Regions from separate parts of the Homo sapiens genome. Here all the other regions are linked to region 1. Evidence: promoter capture Hi-C in 16 types of primary human blood cells and fetal thymus (Javierre and others, 2016). All regions are on one chromosome and are shown on one strand. The core of a region is centred on a gene start or on the middle of the fragment in contact, and the rest is flanking DNA. Distances in the headings are between cores, read along the strand shown. Region 1 holds the start of KIAA1614. Region 2 overlaps ACBD6 (acyl-CoA binding domain containing 6). Region 3 has its middle 6.4 kb from the start of ACBD6. Region 4 has its middle 19 kb from the start of OVAAL. Region 5 has its middle 10 kb from the start of OVAAL. Region 6 has its middle 31 kb from the start of XPR1. Region 7 has its middle 20 kb from the start of LINC01732.

Region 1 (2,640 bases), core at 42-2,541:
ACCGTAAATATCTAGAAGCTGGGTATAGCTAACTCACTGGGAATGTGGCCCAGCAAGTCCCAGCCTCATTTTCCTCGCCCTCACACAAGATGGAGTCGCTCTGGTTCGAAGCCTCTGACGTAACCTTGGGCCTGTACTGTGACACAGAGGGTTTGCACTGGATAATCTCTCAAGCTCCTAGATTGCCAAGACGCCAGTCCACTCACAGCTCCCCAGGCTCCGCTCTCCTGTTGCCCTGCCAGACGCCCCTTCCCCCACCTTGTGCAGAGTAACCCCCTCCTGACTCAAGAGGCAGCCCCTCTAGAAAACTTCCTTCCCCTCCTCCCCTGCCCCGGTACATATTGCGCGGCCCTTACTGTTGCTGTGTCTGTCCTGTCATCTGGAGGTGCACAACTACCCCATGCTTCACAGTGAAGCCAGTCGGCTGAAGGAAAGATGAACGGGCACTTTCTCTTTGTAGAGATTTCCGGAATCTCCTGAGGCCACTTTTATTGCTTCCCGTCTTTGTGAAAAAATAGGCTTGGAAATAGGTGAGGCTCGGTCACCCCCTCTGGGTGGAAGGAGAAAGCAAGCTCCGTCGGTTTGGGCCGCGGCTGCAGGGAATGCCCCTGGTTGCGACCCCCGTCCCGCGCTGGGGAAAGTGATCTGCTCGAGAGCCCCCAGGACCCTGAGAACCGGTCCCCACCCAAGGCGGCGGCGGGCAATTCCGGCACCGCGGCAGACGGGATGCGCGGAGCGCGTTCCCTCCGGGTTTCCCTCACGCCTCTGGAGAGCGGGAACCAACGACCTTGACCTCGGAGGAAACGGCTCTACGGAGCGATGGACGGCCCCACAGAGAGGGCGGCCGGCTCCTCTGGAAAACTTGTCCACACAAAAGGCATTCCTCAGCTTCCACCCCGAAAGGCGAGCCCTGGGTGTAGGGTTACCAGCGGCGCGCGGAGCCCGCCGAGAACGTGGTGCGCCCCCAGCTCCTGCCCGCGCTCCCCGGCCTCCGTGCGCCCCGCGCGCCTCCGCTCTTGCGCCCGCTTTCCCGCGGGGAAGGGGCCACCGCCCTGCGAGGCTGGCGGCCGCCCCGTCGTCCCCAAGCTCGGGGCCGCCCTGGACTTCCATCCCGCGCCTCTGACGGCCGGGGACACTCGCTCCCTGGGCCGCGGCTCAGGAGAGGCGGCCCCGCGGGGCTCCGGGCGGGGTGGGAGGCCGAGGCCCGGCTCCTCCAGCCCCTCCCGCGGCCCCACCTCTCCGCGCTCGGCTCCCTCTGCCCAGCGCGGGCCGGGAAGGCGCGGGCTTGGCCGCTCTTCCCCTCCACGGCAAAGCCGTGAACGGACAGCTGATGCCACTTCCTTCCCTGCCAGCGCCCTCCCTGCCCGACCCCGCTTCCCGTCCTCTCGCCGGGAGGGAGTGCGGCCCGTGGGGCGCTGCGCCGGCCAGACCCACCCGGGGCCCGGGGGCTGCCAGCAGAGCCGGGAGCTGGCCCGGCCTCGGCGCCGTCCCGGACCCCCAGTCGGCCGCGCCCCGAGGGGCGAGGCCTGCGGGCCGCACTCCCTCCGGCCCCGGATTCGGGGCTGGAAGTCCCTCCCCGAACCCAGCAGCTGGCCTGGGAGGGAGAAGGGGCTGGAGAGGGCCTGGCCTCTCCGAGGGATGGAGGGGACAGAGGCGGCGGCGGCCAAACCCGCGGGCGGCAGCCCCCAGTGAGTATAGAGGAGGCAGCGCCGGGCCGGCCGGGCGGGGGTGGCGGACCGGCGGGGCGGAGGAGCGGGGAGCCCAGGTCGCCCCGGCCACTGGGAAGCGGGCCTCCCACGGGCTCGGAGCTGGAAGGGTCGTGGGGAGGCCCGCCCTTCACGTCCATCTTCGTTTGGCCCCTCTGAGTTAGGGGAAATACATCACAGTGCTTGGGCCATAGAACCAGGCAGCTCCGAGCTGACCGATCTTCCCGAAAGCCCGTGCCCAGGGGACTCCAGTGGGAGGGTCTCATTCTTTAAGGTCTCTGGCGTGCTGTTCCAGAGTTTACCCATCAACAATTCTTACTTTAATTTTTTGGAGCCAGGGTCTCGCTCTGTCGCCCAGGCTGGAGTGCAGTGGTGCGATCATGGCTCACTGCAACCTCGACCTCCCGGGCTCAAGCCCGGCCTCCTCTGGCTTCAGCCTCCCCAAAAACAAAAAGTTATTTTAACTTAACAGAAATTGCTCATATTACATTCTAATCCCCTGTTTTCTGGATTGGACTTTAGAGGAGAAGAAGGAGATGCAAAGAGAAACTTGCTGCATTCTAGATTAACTCATAGAACAAATTATTTCTGTCCTCCTAAAGATAATCCTTAAACTTTACTGGCTTAAAACTGGTGTGACATTTCGCATTATATGTGTATTTTGCTTTATAAAATATGTGCATTCCTGAAAGCTTGTGTATAAATTGAATTGTAATAAACGACTACAGAGAGACTTGCCATTTAAGAGAATTTTATGGTGAATACTTGGTCCGTGTTACGAAGTGGATAACTCCTAATTTGTAGTGTATACACATAAGGATTTTTATGCACAAAGTTTACTTCAAGGGGGGGGGGACATCTAGATGTGTGATATTAAAGTTGTATTTTTCTCAGAAGGTAGAATCAATATTAAAACGCTGTGGCATGTAGATAT
Region 2 (2,640 bases), core at 46-2,545, 420 kb before region 1:
CTGTTAATCATTTAACAATATTCTTAAATAGTAACCTCACCTTTATTAAATTCTTTCTAGATGTTCTCCAATAAGTATATGAGAAAAACAGGGTATATTTAAGTGAACAATATCCAATGCTTCCAAAGTCCAAAGCAATCCCTTTTCCTGCTGGATTCCCTAGCATTTACATTATTATTGTTTTATACTATTAAAGATATATATTTTGATATGTTTTATCTTCTCTATTACACTTTAAACTACATAATGGCAGAAATCATGTCTTATTCATCTTTTATCCCTAATAAGCATTTTGCCCTTGCATAGAAAGTGATCATAAAAACGAAATCCAAGAGTAACCTTTTTTCCAGCATGATAATCTCAAGTTAAACTCTTTCCAATTCTTATGTAATTCAAATTTTTCTGCTTTCAAAAACTCTGCAACTCAGAGAAGTTCTCAGCATCAGTAGCTGGTTATATTACTATTTAAGTAATTATTATTAATTTTTTTCATTTTTCTGAGATGGAGTCTCACACTGTCACCCAGGCTGGAGTGCAGTGGCCTGATTTTGGCTCACTGCAGCCTCAGCCTCCCAGGTTCAATTGATTCCCCTGCCTCAGCTTCCTGAGTAGCTGGGATTACAGGTGTGTACCACCACGTCCAGCTAATTTTTGTATTTTTAGTAGAGATGAGATTTCACCATGCTGGCCAGGCCGGTCTTGAACTCTTACCTCAGGTGAACCACCTGGCTTGGCCTCCCAGAGTGCTGGGATTACAGGTATGAGCCACCACACCTGGCCAGCAATTATTTTATTAGATAAATATTACAATAACTTTAAAATATTTCAAGAAAGTAAAACTTTAAGCATGTTACTTAAAACTAAGTTTAGTTTTAGACATTTATTTCAGAGAAGGATCATAAGTTTTTGGAAAGTATTATTTATAATCATTAAGTCTTACCTGAGGATTCCAACCTGGATCTAGTTTTTTAACTACTGCGATATATTCCTGCATTGCTTGGCTGGGGCTTGAATCACCAAGTGCTTTCCAAGCTTCCCTACAATATGGAATATCCAAAATGGCCTGTCATTATGCAAATAACACAAACAGCATTTTTCTTATTATTAAAAAAACTGTATGCACATTTCAAGGGTCTCTGAATATAGAGATAATAAGCTATGGATAGAGAAGCTCTGTCTTTTTGCATTTACATTGGTCTAGAGCTATACAGACCTTATTGCCCTACCTAAGCAGTCTTTTCAGACATTTTTTTTCCTAATCGTCCTCCCCGTGAAATTTTAAAAACACAGATACAATGCATAGCTATTAAATTTTGAAAGACCACAAACCACTGTAATCTAAGATTTTATAATTTCCTCAAACAAAATTTCACCCCTATTGAGGATATATGATCTACAGACTAATAGAGATTATTCTCATAAATTAACTGTGCTTATGGCATTTTGGTCGTACAGAAACTAATCATCACATAAAAAACAATATTCCCAAGGAAAATGCATCAAACTTCTTACTAAGATACAAGAAATCCACCTTCCCTTTCTGCTGTTATCTCATCTATAAGCTTCTAGTAACTGATCCTGGGGACTTAGTCTGGGACTTCAAAAGTAAGGGATGGTGAGGGCAGAAATAAGAATACTGGCCAGGCTTGGTGGCTCACGCCTGTAATCCCAGCACTTTGGGAGGCTGAGGCAGGTGGACCACCTGAGGTCAGGAGTTTGAGACCAGCCTGGCCAACATGGTGAAACCCCATCTCTACTAAAGATACAAAAATTAGCCAGGCGTGGTGGTGTGCGCCTGTAGTCCAGCTACTCTGGAGGCCGAGGCAGGAGAATTGCTTGAACCTGGGAGGCAGAGGTTGCAGTAAGCTGAGATGGCACCACCACACTCCAGCCTGGGCAACAGAGCAAAATTCTGTCTCAAAAAAAAAAAAAAAAAAAAAAAAAAAAAAACAACAACAGCAACTAAAGAATACTAATGAGTAAGTTAGGGACTTCCTACAATATAAATGGCAAAAGCAACATTTTAGTCCTGAGCTTCCTTTTGGGTCATCTACCCCCCTGCCCCCACAACAGGCTGCCAGGACAGGCCTTCTTCTTGGTTTTTCCCTGCCAATTCTTTCTAAATTCCAACCAGTGTTTCTCGATTTCCCTGATTTGCTGTCAAACAGAACTCAATCCCACATTTTTTCACTACCTTCCTGCTTCTATGATGAATATAATATCTTTCTGAGGTTTTCTAAATTTATTTTCACTGAATTCCTTAAGAATTACTTATACGCATCATAACACTTCATCCCTAAATAGATCAGCTTACACAAACTCAGGAAATTTATCATCAATTACTATTATACAATATAGAGGCTATACATTCAGATTTTCCTGATTGTCCCAATAATGTCCTTTATGGCTTTCTTCTCCCACACCAGGAACCAATCAAGATCCACACACAGCATTGAGTTTCATGTATCTTCAGCTTTTTTGTCTTCCACATTGTTGGTATTTTTTAAGAGTCCAACTGTTTTATAACATATCCCTCAATTTGAATTTGTCTAATTGTTTCCTTACCTACAGTGTTCTTGCCAAAAATGATTAATCATGATTAGAATTGGGTTAAATTATTTCAGCAGAGTAATATATAGG
Region 3 (2,640 bases), core at 104-2,603, 400 kb before region 1:
TTCCTTATGGTTTTCTTAATGACATTTTCTTTTCTCTAGCTTACTTTATTTCAAGAAGACAGTACATAATACATATACAAAATATGTGTTACTCAACTGTTTGTGTTCTTGGCATGGCTTGCAGTCAACAGTAGTTGACTGCTTAGGGGTCGATCCCCTTATTGCTGAGTTGTTCAAAGCTTAACTGTTTATGTTTCTTTGAATCCCAAGAAAAATCAGCCAAGAAATCAGGAAGTCAAAAGAAAGTATTACAGTTCTGCAGGAATTGAAGTTTAGCAGTCAACATACACTGATTCAAACAAACCCGCTAACAAGTGAAAAGCAATGGCAGGAAACACTGACAAATGGAGTCTAAAGTGAGCAGAAAAAGGAGCAGGCAGGAAAGAAGTAGTGAAGATCTAATCAGTCTGGCTCATGATGGTGGCCATGTTGCATATGGTGTTCACAGCCCCATCTTCTGGTAACAATGAGTCATTCTTGCAAGTAAAATAAATATTGATGACATGATATGCATAATAAATAAAATTCTATGAGTCATGTTCTAAGAAATTAGAAGCAAAATAAGTCCTCAAACTGGCAATTTGTTTAAGTGATGCTGAGTAGTTCTATTAACCTTGCTAGAAGGTCTGAATGTTATGTTATTAGAATACTACCCAACAATGTTGTGGCATTTTCCAGTGTTTATATTCATTATAAACTACAGTTCTAAGTATTTCAAGAAGAAATGCAAAGAGAAAAATATGTGATTGTTGTAAAATGCTTCCCAACATAACATCTGAACTGATCTAAACATCTGAATTAACAAAAGTCATAATGAGAGGTGACGACCTACTGGCAGCCCTCACAGAGGGCTGGCTGTCAGCACCTCCTCGGCCTCGGCAGTGCTTGAGGAGCCCTTCAGCCTGCCGCTGCACTGTGGGAGCCCCTCTCTGGGCTGGCCAAGGCTAGAGCCGGCTCCCTCTGCTTGCAGGGAGGTGTGGAGGGAGAGGAGCAGGCTGGAACCGGGGCTGCGCGTGGCGGTCGCAGGCCAGCGTGAGTTCCAGGAGGGCATGGGATCTGTGGGCCCTGCACTTGGAGCGGCAGACCGGAAACACTGGCCCCGGGCAGTGAGCGGCTTAGCACCTGGGCCAGCAGCTGCAGAGGGTGGGCCGGGTCCCCCAGCAGTACCGGCCCACCGGCACTGCACTCGGATCCTCACAGGGCCGCAGCTGCTTCCCTGCAGGACAGGGCTCAGGACCTGCAGCCCACCATGCCCGAGCCTTCCCCCACCCCGCCATGGGCTCCTGCGCAGCCCTAGCCTCCCCAACGAGTGCCGCCCCCTGCTCCGCAGCACCCGGTCCCATCTACCGCCCAAGGGCTGAGGAGCCCGCAGGCACGCAGCGCTGGACTGGTTGAACAGCTCCGCCCGCTGCCCTGGCACGGGATCCACCAGGCGAAGCTGGCTGACCTCCTGAGTTGGTGGGGGGAGGTGGGACTTGGAGAACTTTTATGTCTAGCTGGAGGATTGTAAATGCACCAATCAGCACCCTGTGTCTAGCTCAAGGTTTGTGAATGCACCAATCAGCAGTCTGTATCTAGCTCAGGCTTTGTAAATGCATCAATCAGTGCTCTGTGTCTGGCTAATCTAGTGGGGGACTTGGAGAACTTTTGTGTCTAGCTCAGGGATTGTAAATGCACCAATCTGCACCCTGTCAAAACGGACCAATCAGCTCTCTGTAAAATGGACCAATCTCAGCAGGATGTGGGTGGGGCCAGATAAGAGAATAAAAGCAGGCTGCCAAGAGCCAGCTGCGGCAAGTCGCTCAGGTCTCCAGCTTAGTTGTTTTGCTCTCTGCAGTAACTCTTGCTGGTGCTAACTGTTTGGGTCCGCACTGTCTTTGTGAGCTGTGACACTCATGGCGAAGGTCTGCAGCTTCACTCTTGAGGCCAGCAAGACCACGAACCCACTGGGAGGAATGAACAACTCCAGACGCACCGCCTTGAGAGCTGTAACACTCACCGCCAAGGTCTGCAGCTTCACTCCTGAAGCCAGGGAGATCACGAACCCACCAGAAGGAAGAAACTCCAAACACGTCCGAACATCAGAAGGAACAAACTCCCGACACACCATCTTTAAGAACTGTAACACTCACCGTGAGGGTCCACGTTTTCATTCTTGAAGTCAGTGAGTTCAAGAACCCACCAATTGCAGACACAATAACTGTTTCAGTAGCATAACTGAAGTCAGGGCAACCAGACAAAATATTTTCCTCGTTACAAAAGTAACTGCACTGGGTTTAGTACAATTTAGGTTTTTGTGAAATATTGACATTTAAAAAATTTTTGTATCAATACCTTTTGAGGTATAAATTTTTTTTGTTATATGGATGAATAATGTAGTGGTGACTTCTGAGACTTTAGTGCACCTGTCACCCAAGTAGTGTACATTGTACTTAATATGTGGTTATTTATCTCTAACCCCATTCCCACCCTCCCCCTGCTGAGTCTCTAAACTCCATTATACCACTCTGTATGTCTTCATGTACTCAAAGCTTAGCTCCCGCTTACAAGCGAGAACATACAGGTTTTGGTTTCCCACTCCTGAGTTACTTCATTTAGAATAATGGCTTCCAGCTCCATACAAGTTGCTGCCAAAGACAT
Region 4 (2,640 bases), core at 92-2,591, 370 kb before region 1:
AGTGATAGTTCTCAAAATGTGATTCCCTGTCAAGACAAAGTGCATTAACATGATCTGGGAACCTGTTGGAAATACACATTTTCAGGTCCCATCTGAAACTCTGGAAGGCCCAGCAATCTTTCACTGGAGGGTTCTGGTGTTCCCTAAAATTTGAGAGCTACTGATCAAGAGGAAAGATCTAGTGGGTTTGTGCTGAGCTTGTGCCAGGCTTGTACAACCCCAGCATAACTAAAGTGAAATGCACCAGAGAAAAAGAAGCGATAGCGGAGATTGGAGGGGCTCTATTGAATGCTCTCATGCTAGACGTCGCATTTTTATCTGAAGTTCTACTTATGTAGTAATTTAAGAAGCCTCTCCCCCAAAGGAAAAAAAAAGTACGGTAGCATTAGTTGGCCCTGCTCAGAGTACATGACAAGAAGCTCCAATCATAGACCAGTTGAAAGTGTATGTTACAGAGAAGCCAAACACCTCACTATAATTAACTGTTTTATCAGCTGCTTTGAAAACCTATCATCGAGAATTTCCAAATGAAAAAGACTTGGGTTTCCCAGCTGAGACTGTTTGGAACCTGGTCGCTGGGGTTTTCCACAAACTAAGCTATCATTAAATATTTCTACCACTGAAGGGGGTCATTAGGTGTGCAAGCCCATTCGATTTAAATTCCTACTTATTTTGGTTGTGGATCTCGATATAGATTTGTGTCCCTAAGGCAGAAAAGAAGATGTTGGCATTTATGGATCTTAAAAATGTATTTTTTTTTCTAAAGATCTTAATGGATAAAGTAACTAGGGCTACAACAAGAGCTGGAAGCTTACACCCAAATATTTTGCCTGAACAATGGCTCCTTGTTTTATTTCTCAGTTAAGAAAAATGCCCAGGGACTGGCCAGGATAAGCAGTTCTTCCCTCATACTCATCCACCTGGCCAAGCAGCAATGTTCAGCTCTGTGGACACTGACAGCAAGAGGAGGTAGGTTGGGAAAGGGCCTGCAGGGCAGGCCTATGGGGAAGACACTGGGCTCAGAGAGCAGCGCCTTTAAAGTACATATACAGCCTGGCCAACATGGTGAGACCCTATCTCTACTAAAAATACAAAAATTAGTCAGGCCTGGTGGCATGCGCCTGTAATCCCAGCTACTCGGGAGGCTGAGGCAGGAGAATCGCTTGAACCTGGGAGGCGGAGGTTGCAGTGAGCCAAGATCGCACCACTGCACTCCAGCCTGGGTAACAGAGTGAGACTCTGTCGAAAGAAACAACAGAACGAACGAACGAAAGAAAGAAAGAAAGAAAGAAAGAAAGAAAGAAAGAAAGAAAGAAAGAAAGAAAGAAAGGAAGGAGGAAAGAAGGAAAGAAGGAAAGAAAAGAAGTAGGCCTGCTAACAGTGTCAGGTCCTCTGGTCTTCAGCAGGGGACAGATGGAAAAGAATTTTAATGGGTCTATGCTGACTGGTGCCATCCCAATTTTATGCCTTATCTTCCTGACATATTTTGCCAGCTTGTTCACAGATATACCCTTTGGTTATATATATATACCTGGGATTCTGATTTAAGCAGGTACCGAACCTTGGACTGTATCAACTCTACTTCGGTTTCATGGACTAGATTCTAGGGTCCAGCCCAGGCTTTCCCAGCACCAATCTTGGCCTGCCCCTGACTTTATCTTGACAGTGTCCCAGTAGTTAAGTTCCCCTGTGAGCCCCTCACTCTGACTCACCTGGAGCTCAGAGGTTTCCCTGTGCTTAGGCCCATCTCCCGTGGTGCCTCTACCTAGAGTCCTTCAGCTGCAGTTTTGGCTTCACTGTCTACTCCTTATTTTTTTGAGGTCTGACCTCAGAGTATCTTAAGAATGCAATATTTAACAAAACATATCCCTCCAAGCTTTGCAATATCCCCTGTGATCCCATTTCATGGGTAAGAAACCAAAATTATTATAGTCGATGAATAATAACCCCACTGATTCACAGGAACATTAAGAAAACCTTGCCAGGCTAAGCAATTCCAGGCAGCCTTCAGCCGCCACCACCGGTGATGAATCACAGAGGCTGCTGCCAGAGATGGGACATTTTGGGACTCTGCACATACAACTTAAGACACAGGATGGGAGTGGAGGTGAGAAAGAGAAGACATAAGATCCGTCCAGGGCAAAGGATTCAAAGGTCACCAGGACTACACTCACCTCCTGAGACCTGGTGACAGCAAAAACATTTCCTCGACGTGACTTCTATTTGGAAGTTGAGGAGACAGTTCAGCCACCTTGTAGAGTATTTTGCATCAGCTAATGCTCCCTGGCCTGACACACTCACAAACTCTGACCCATTTAGATAACCTCCCCTCAACCAAAAAAGAACGCACTTTCACCAGCCCCTGAAAATCTCCCAATGAATTTATCTTTTTAAAATGAGATAATTACACACGAAGCACTTAGAACAATGCCTGGCGCATATTCAGCACTGACTACGTGCTAGCTATAGTTGTTATTTTTGTCTGTGGTCTGAAGACAGATGCAGTGCCACTTGTCTCTTCAGACGCCAGTATCTCAATGCCCCTCTTCACCCGTGCCACACCCAGCCTACCAGGTCTCATTTCATCGAAAAACAAACAACAATAACAGCAACCCTCCCGCCCCCAAGCATTCTAATCAA
Region 5 (2,640 bases), core at 105-2,604, 340 kb before region 1:
CCTCTGCTTGCCACCCCAGCCTTCACCACCCCATCTCGACTTTCCCACAGGAAAACCATGTTAGGTGTTAGACAATGATGCCACACAATAGAAATATAAATCCAGTGTTTGTCTAGCATAATATAAATGGCACTGCTGAACTCCATCCTTCCTCCCATTGACAACATCAGAGAGATAGTTAGTGAGGGGCAAAATCATCTGTGATTGTCTCTGCATGGATGTTGAAATTGCTCCCCCCAGGGTCTTCTAGGGTTTTTAAGCATAAAGGTGTTCATCCAACTGAAAAAATTGTATATCTATAAGCAATTTGAGATTCAGCATGTCTGGCAATGCACATTTTTTTAAGGATGAGAAAATGCAGCATGAAATGTGTTTATGTATGCTGTGCTGGGGAATTTCTGAACCTTTCACTGTCATCTTGAAGCCTTTAAGAGGGAAGCTCTTGAGGATGTTGGATTATAAAAGTCATTCTCTCATTTCTGGGACTTAAGGACACGTCTCTGAGCATAACAAATGTGCGATCACAAATGAAGGTGCCTTGAGCTTAATGGAAGAAAGGTTTATCTTCAACACTGACATTTCTACTTCTCTAATAAAATCATATTGTGCCTCTTTTTTTATTAAAAGGTTTCTTCGCCCTTCCCCTTTCCTAGGGCTGATGGGATTCATCCCCTAAAGCTGGTGTGGTTGGCAGTAACAGGGCTGAGTAGATTTAGCTGGTATGATCAGGAGATTGGTTACAGGGGAATTGAGCAAATAAGTAAACATATTGAAAATGATGGGAGCCAGGCCGCTCACTGTTGGAGAGATCTATATTTGAGTTACAAATATAGAATGAAAGAAGGCTAGAATAAATGCTGTGGTGTTGGAATAGAACTGAAAGTATTGGTGTGAACTCCTGGTTTTTAATGTAAATATATAACAAAGATTTATGTGTATTATGTGTGTATATATAAATATATACATATATAGAGATACACATATACATGCATAGACATATCTATCTATCTATATACCTAATTTCCTAGCTCTATCTGCACCGAGTGCCTGAAAGTAAAGGCACCCAAGTAGCAATAAGCATACCTAGCATCCACATCATGGCTTCTAGATATTATTTTTTATTAAAAGGAAATAGGACTCCATCAGGAAATAGCTGATTCCAGGATGTGGTAGTTTTAAAACTGGTCCACTCGAAGATATCTACATCTTAACCCCTGGAACCTGTAAATGTTACCTTATTTGGAAAAAGGATTTTTGCAGATGTGATTAAGTTAAAGATTTTTAAATGAGGAGATTATCCTGGATTAGCCAGGTGGATCCTAAATGCCATCACAAGTGTCTTTATAAGAGAGAGACGGGGGAGATTACAGACAGAAGAGGAGACAGCGTGACTATGGAGGCAGTGATTCAGTCACAAGTCAAGGAGTGCCAGCAGTTACCCCAAGCTGGAAGGGGCAATAGACAGATTCTCCCCTAGAGCCTCTGGAGGGAGTGTGGTTCTGCCAATAGCTAATTTCATCCCATTAATATTGGTTTCAGACTCCTGGCCTCCAAATTTGTAAGGGAATAGTTTCTGTTGTTTCCAAATCTGTGGTAATTTGAGATGGCAGTCAAAGGAAGCTAATATACAGGCCTGGGGCAGGGAATGTCCAAGATGAGCCTGGAGCATCTTCTTGAGCCAGAAAGTGAGGTGATGCTCAGGATGAGAAAGGACACAGGGACCAGCCTGAAGGGACTTCCATGGGCCAAAGTGAGGGCAATAAAGAATCAAAGGGAATATCAAGAATAAAAGTTGGGCACGGTGGCTCATCCCTATAATCCCAGCACTTTGGGAGGCCAAGGCTGGTGGATCACCTAAGGTCAGGAGTTCGAAACCAACCTGACCAACATGGTGAAACCCCATCTCTACCAAAAATTACAAAAATTAGCCGGGCATGGTAGTATGTGCCTGTAGTCCTAGCTATTCAGGAGGCTGAGGCGGGAGGATTGCTTGAGCCCAGGATGTTCAGGTTGCAGTGAGCGGTGATTGTGCCACTGCACTCCAGCCTGAGCAACAGACCGAGATCCTGTCTCAAAAAAAGAAAGGAGAGAGAGAGAAAAGAAAGAAAGAGAAATGGAATTAGAATATCACCATTTGGCAACCAACAGAATGGAAATTAATTTGGACAAGAATCATCAATGGATGCAAAAACTAGTGGATGACAGTTTGATGAGAAACAGCATCTTTACATTATCTCACAGTGTCTTCCAACAAAATACTTGTTAACTCTTATTACCCATTTTTAATTTAACATCACCAGTAATGGGACAAATTGACATCATGTACCCTTGATATGATAGACTGAGAACAAAGCATTACTCTGTGGTGTTCCTGCCAAAAATGCATGACATAAAGCTAATCACGAGGCAGTATCAGACAAACCTGAACTGAGGAGTATTCTACAGATAACTGGCTGTACCCTTTGAAAATGTCAGAGGCATGCAGGACAGGGAAAGGCTGAGAAACTGTTCCAAATTAATTACTTCCAACAACCAATCCTCAACTGCATTCTGGACCCATAAAGGATATTATCAGGGCAGATGGTAAAATTGGAAGTTTGTGAATAAATGGTGACATTGTATTGATGTTTCTACTTAGTT
Region 6 (2,640 bases), core at 99-2,598, 310 kb before region 1:
GGCAGATCCCATTTATGTAAAAATATGTGTAAATATAGTATGTGTTAGTATTTGAGTAGAAGGAATTTGAAACACTATGCACCACATTATTAATAACTGTTATGTCTGAGGGTGGAATTGCCAGGGCTTTTTACTTTCTAAGACATCTGTATGGTTTGCCTTTTATACAATAAGCATCTGTTACTTTCGAATCTGAAAGGGAATGGGGGTGCAAAAATAAAGTCACTCCAAAAAATTCAACTGATTTCTTAGTCATACAGTCAAACTAGCTGAGCTATCCAAATGCAAACATAAGAAGCTTACCAATGGGGAATGGACTGTACATACTGTAAAAGGTAGCATTGTTATATATTAATAAATATTACATACACAGGATAGGCTTCTAAGGGCAGAAGCAAAGAACAAATGCCAGAGAGAAAGAATTTTCTATTTCTCATTTAAAAAATTAACTTGTTAAAAAATAAACTTAATTTAATTGGAGAACTTTTTCAAACTCACAGACTTATTTTGGAAGATTACTCGTTTTAGTTACGTAACCTGAACCCTCAGTTTAGGAAAATGCTCAGCAAGAATATGACAGATGTTAATCGGTAGCATTTAATGGCAAATTGCTGATGTTGTTCAATTAATCATATCAGATCTAATGTCATGTTTTTCTGTGATTTGTGAGTCATCCCAGTGTGGTATAGTGAAAAGTATATAGGTTTTAGAGATTCCGCTTAGGTTCAAATCTCCCCTCTCCCACTATACTTCCAATTTGATTTTGGATCAATTACTTAACCCCCTTAAGCCTCGGTTGTTTGAATTAAATGTATTTTATAATAATAACTGCTTAATAGGCTTGTGATAAGGCCTAAACAAAATGATCTATAAAATGCATTTTATAAACTATAAAATGCTCTAGCATATAGTAGGCACTGAATATTGAGTGAATAAATGAAAGAATTAGGGAATATTATTCTAGACTTTGTTTAATGTCCACACAAAATGAGAGAGACAGAAAAAGAAAAACAGAGACAGAGAGGGTGAAAAGAGAGAGAGAGGAGAAGAGAAAGACAGAAAAGAGAGAAGAAAGGAGAAAGTTCCAGTTCCTTCAGGTGTGGAGTTTCCTAAGAATGAAAGTGACTCATGATTTAGAAAAGGAAAAAAGTGAACAAGCAATAACTGAATGCAAATCCTAGGTTTGGAATAATGCTGCAACATTTTGAAATTGCCACACAAATCACACATAATACCTACTATCCTTTAAGGCCTTCTCAAATGTCACAGCCATGATGAGGCCTTTCCTAATTTCCCAGGCAGTGGTAGGAACTTCCTCTATATGTTCCACAGCTAAGCGCTGGAGGTGTCAGCCATGAGAAACTTTGCCTTCCATCATGAAGTGCACTGCTCTCAGCTCGTTCCCAGGGAATTAATGCTAGGATGTTCTTTGCATAAAGGTAACTTTGGATTAGACTTGGGGGTATGTGCCTGACCCAAGGCGACCCATCTAATGAGGTCCTAGCATGAAAAGATTACCTGGGCCAATCAAATTCTCTTTCAGAGAAATTGAAACTAATAGAATCAAAAGAATTTGCTAGTTGGAGAGAAGAACCCACTTGCAGAGTGAGTTCCCTTAATGACAGTGCCCCAGAATGACAATTCTGTGACCCAAGTCCACTCTTGGTCCCATAGTTAGGAAATAGGTAAAGCTGAGCATACACTCAAGGATTTCTTAACTTAGTTATCCAACACAGGTGATTTTGGTGTGTGCAAGCACTTCAGAGAGGAGTTTAAAAAGCCCCGTTCTTTTAGAAATAAGTTGATATAGCAGCTTGCTTTTAGCTAATCACCCATTACTTTTCTTTCCTTATCCTACAGCTCTTCCCACTCTCCTGTTTGCCACCTACCATGCCTGCACGGCAATCTAGACACCAGAACATTTGAAGGACCGCAGAGCCAAACAGTTCAGGTGTGAGTCTGATGGCTAGTAGAGAGGTAGGGACCAGAGATACAGATTTGGAAGTTAACAAAACTGCTGATTTAAAATCTGCAAAAGTAGAGGAAGATGCCCAATGATTGTAAGGGTGGTTAGAAGATCCTAGAAGAAATTCTGTAGATACAAATGCTTAAACACTGGGCAACAGAGAAGGAGGAGAAGGAACTCGTGGAGGAACACTCAGAGAAGAGACCAATATAGAGACAATTGGCAATCCTTTCCCAAGAGGTTTCAGTGGGAAGGTAGAGATAGAATTGAGACTGCAATGTGTTTTGAAATGAGGTTGAACTAAGGAAGTGGAGCAGTGATTGTTGCTAACCCTCTTAAAGAGATTAGCAGAGGAGGAAATGTCCAGGAAGGCTTGGCATCCTTAAATGCTCCCTCTCCACCCATGGGCAAGGCTACAGGCATCCTATAAATGCAAGCTTGACTTAGCTATCTACACTTTGAGAATTCTTTCTGCTCTGGCTCTCATCCAGCTTTCTAAACTTTTGGTTCTATTCTTCTATCCTTACTTACCAATCTTTTAACTCCCATCCATTTTTTTCCTCTTTGCCCAGCTCATTTTAGATTGATACAGTGTGTGGCTGTCTCTTTGGTTCTGACCCTATTTCACCTGGAACACTATCTTCAGTTCCCTTTTTGTTTCATGGCCTGAGCTC
Region 7 (2,640 bases), core at 80-2,579, 280 kb after region 1:
GGTTTGGCTCTGTGTCCCCACCCAAATCTCATCTTGTAGCTCCCATAATTCCCATGTGTTGTGGGAGGTACTGGGTGGGAGATGATCGAATCACAGGATAGGTCTTTCCCATGCTGTTCTTGTGATAGTGAATGGGTCTCATGAGATCTGATGGTTTTAAACACAGGAGTTTCTCTGCACAAGCTCTCTTTTTGCCTGCTGCCATTCACGTAAGATGTGACTTGTTCCTCCTTTGTTTCCACCATGATTGTGAGGCTTCCCCACTCACGTGGAACTGTGAGTTCTCCATTGAACCTCTTTCCTTTGTAAATTGCTCAGTCTTGGGTATGTCTTTATCAGCAGTGTGAAAACAGACTAATAGAGTAAGTTGGTACCAGTAGAGTGGGGTGCTGCTGAAAAGATATCCAAAAATGTGGAAATGACTTTGGAATTGGGCAACAGCAGAGGTTGGAACAGTTTGGAGGGCTCAGTAGAAGACAGTAAAATGTGAGAAAGTTTGGAACTCCCCAGAGACTTGTTGAATGGCTTGGACAAAAATGTTGATAGTGATATGAACAATAAGGTCCAGGCTGAGGTGGTCTCAGATGAGATGAGGAACTTGTTGGGAACTGGAGCTAAGGTGACTCTTGTTATGTTTTAGCAAAAAGACTGGTGGCATTTTGCCCCTGCCCTAGAGGTTTGTGGAACTTTGAACTTGAGAGAGATGATTTAGGGTATCTGGCAGAAGAAATTTCTAAGCAGCAAAGCATTCAACAGGTGACTTGGGTGCTGTTAAAGGCATTCAGTTTTATAAAGTTTTATAAGGGAAGCAGAGCATAAAAGTTAGGAAAATTTGCAGCCCAACAATGTGATAGAAAAGAAAATCCCATTTTCTGAGGAGATATTCAAGCTGGCTGTAGAAATTTGTGTAAGTAAAAAGGAGCTGAATGTTAATCCCCAAGACAATGGGGAAAATGTCTCCAGGACATGTCAGAGGTCTTCACAGCAGCCTCTCCCGTCACAGGCCTCGAGGCCTAGGAGAAAAAAGTGGTTTCGTGGGCTGGGTCCAGGGTCCCCATGCTGTGTGCAGCCTAGGGACTTGGTGCCTCACATCCCAGCTGCTCCAGCCATGGCTGAAAGGGGCCTACATAGAGCTTGGGCCATGGCTTCAGAGGGTGCAAGCCCCAAGCCTTGGTGGCTTCCATGCGGCATTGAGCCCACAAGAGCACACAAGTCAAGAACTGGGGTTTGGGAACTTCTGCCTAGATTTCAGAGGATGTATGGAAACACCTAGATGTCCAGGCAGAAGTTTGCTGCAGGAGCAGCGCCCTTATGGAGAACTTCTGCTAGAGCAGTCCAGAAGGGAAATGTGGGTTGGGAGCCCTGACACAGTCCCTACTGGAGCACTGCCTAGTGGAGCTGTGAGAAGAGGGCCACCATCTTCCAGACCCCAGAATGGTAGATCCACTGACAGCTTCTACCATGCACCTGGAAAAGCCACAGACACTCACCACCTGCCCATGAAGGCAGCCAGGAGGGAGGCTGTACCCTGCAAAGCCATAGGGGCAGAGCTGTCCAAGACCATAGAAACCCACCTCTTACACCAGCATGACATGGAGTCAAAGGAGATCATTTTGGAGCTTTAAAATTTGACTGCCCTGCTGGATTTCGGACTTGCATGGGGCCTGTAGCCCCTTTGTTTTGGCCAGTTTCTCCCATTTGGAATGGCTGTATTTACCCAGTGCCTGTAACCCCACTGTATCTAGGAAGTAACTAACTTGCTTTTGATTGTACAGGCTTATAGGTGGAAGGGACTTGCCTTGTCTAAGATGAGACTTTGGACTGCGGACTTTTGAGTTAATGCTGAAATGAGACTTTGGGGGACTGTTGTGAAGGCATGAATGATTTTGAAATGTGAAGATATGAGATTTGGGAGGGTCTGGGGCCAAATGATATGATTTGGCTCTGTGTTCCCACCCAAATCTTATCTTGTACCTCCCATAATTCCCATATGTTGTGGGAGGGACCCAGTGGGAGATGATCGAATCATAGGGGTGGGTCTTTCCTTTGCTGTTCTTGTGATAGTGAATGGGTCTCGTGAGATCTGATGGTTTTAAAAACAGGAGTTTCTCTGCACAAGCCCTCTTTTTGCCTGCTGCTATTCACATAAGATGTGACTTGCTCATCCTTGCCTTCCACCATGATTGTGAGGCTTCCCCAGCCATGTGGAACTGTAAGTCCAAAAAACCTCTTCCTTTTGTAAATTGCCCAGCCTTGGGTATGTCTTTATCAGCAGCGTGAAAATAGACTAATACACCTTGTCATGAAAGTATGATTGTGGCTGGGCATGGTGGCTCATGCCTATAATCCCAGCACTTTGGGAGGCCAAGGCAGGAAGATTGCTTGAGTTTGAGACCCCAGCCTGCACAATATAGTGAGACCCCATCTTTACCAAAAATTAGCTGGGAATGGTGGTGCAAGCCTGTGGTCCTAGCTACTTGGGAAGCTGAGGTGGGAGGATCACTTGAGCCCAGAAGTTCAAGGCTGCAGTGAGCTATGATCGTACCACTGCTCTCCAGCCTGGGTGACAAAGACCCTGTCTCTTAAAAAAAAAAAAAAAAAAAAGAGTAACCAAAAAATAAAAAGTCGAGGAAGAAGGGA

Evidence for each region. Contacts are between HindIII fragments. The CHiCAGO score rates a contact against its expected background, and 5 or more counts as called.
Region 2: a fragment that was not itself captured here is called in contact with the fragment with the promoter of KIAA1614 in region 1 in 1 of 17 cell types (fetal thymus); the score reaches 6.5 in fetal thymus.
Region 3: a fragment that was not itself captured here is called in contact with the fragment with the promoter of KIAA1614 in region 1 in 10 of 17 cell types (endothelial precursors, megakaryocytes, erythroblasts and 7 more); the score reaches 9.4 in endothelial precursors.
Region 4: a fragment that was not itself captured here is called in contact with the fragment with the promoter of KIAA1614 in region 1 in 17 of 17 cell types (megakaryocytes, monocytes, endothelial precursors and 14 more); the score reaches 7.7 in megakaryocytes.
Region 5: a fragment that was not itself captured here is called in contact with the fragment with the promoter of KIAA1614 in region 1 in 1 of 17 cell types (naive B cells); the score reaches 5.5 in naive B cells.
Region 6: a fragment that was not itself captured here is called in contact with the fragment with the promoter of KIAA1614 in region 1 in 2 of 17 cell types (neutrophils and endothelial precursors); the score reaches 5.5 in neutrophils.
Region 7: a contact is called between a fragment that was not itself captured here and the fragment with the promoter of KIAA1614 in region 1, in 1 of 17 cell types (monocytes). The highest score is 5.3, in monocytes.

Annotation. Positions count from the first base shown.
Region 1 is chr1:180,911,606-180,914,245 of GRCh38, forward strand. It overlaps KIAA1614, which reads left to right and starts at 1,292. Exons shown (of 9, transcript NM_020950.2): 1 at 1,292-1,688. The coding sequence starts at 1,639. LINC02816 (long intergenic non-protein coding RNA 2816) reads left to right here. Exons shown (of 4, transcript NR_185877.1): 4 at 1-2,451. RefSeq lists a silencer at 1,088-1,387. The HindIII fragment of the contact is 8,183 bases long and covers 1-2,396 here.
Region 2 is chr1:180,491,329-180,493,968 of GRCh38, forward strand. It overlaps ACBD6 (acyl-CoA binding domain containing 6), which reads right to left. Exons shown (of 8, transcript NM_032360.4): 3 at 941-1,037. Among named protein-coding and RNA genes, the nearest start is that of ACBD6, 9.9 kb to the right of the region's middle. The HindIII fragment of the contact is 530 bases long and covers 1,031-1,560 here.
Region 3 is chr1:180,507,619-180,510,258 of GRCh38, forward strand. No RefSeq gene overlaps it. Among named protein-coding and RNA genes, the nearest start is that of ACBD6, 6.4 kb to the left of the region's middle. The HindIII fragment of the contact is 2,352 bases long and covers 178-2,529 here.
Region 4 is chr1:180,538,905-180,541,544 of GRCh38, forward strand. No RefSeq gene overlaps it. Among named protein-coding and RNA genes, the nearest start is that of OVAAL, 19 kb to the right of the region's middle. The HindIII fragment of the contact is 1,066 bases long and covers 809-1,874 here.
Region 5 is chr1:180,567,999-180,570,638 of GRCh38, forward strand. No RefSeq gene overlaps it. Among named protein-coding and RNA genes, the nearest start is that of OVAAL, 10 kb to the left of the region's middle. The HindIII fragment of the contact is 4,766 bases long and covers 1-2,640 here.
Region 6 is chr1:180,599,372-180,602,011 of GRCh38, forward strand. No RefSeq gene overlaps it. Among named protein-coding and RNA genes, the nearest start is that of XPR1, 31 kb to the right of the region's middle. The HindIII fragment of the contact is 2,105 bases long and covers 297-2,401 here.
Region 7 is chr1:181,193,662-181,196,301 of GRCh38, forward strand. No RefSeq gene overlaps it. Among named protein-coding and RNA genes, the nearest start is that of LINC01732, 20 kb to the left of the region's middle. The HindIII fragment of the contact is 2,944 bases long and covers 1-2,640 here.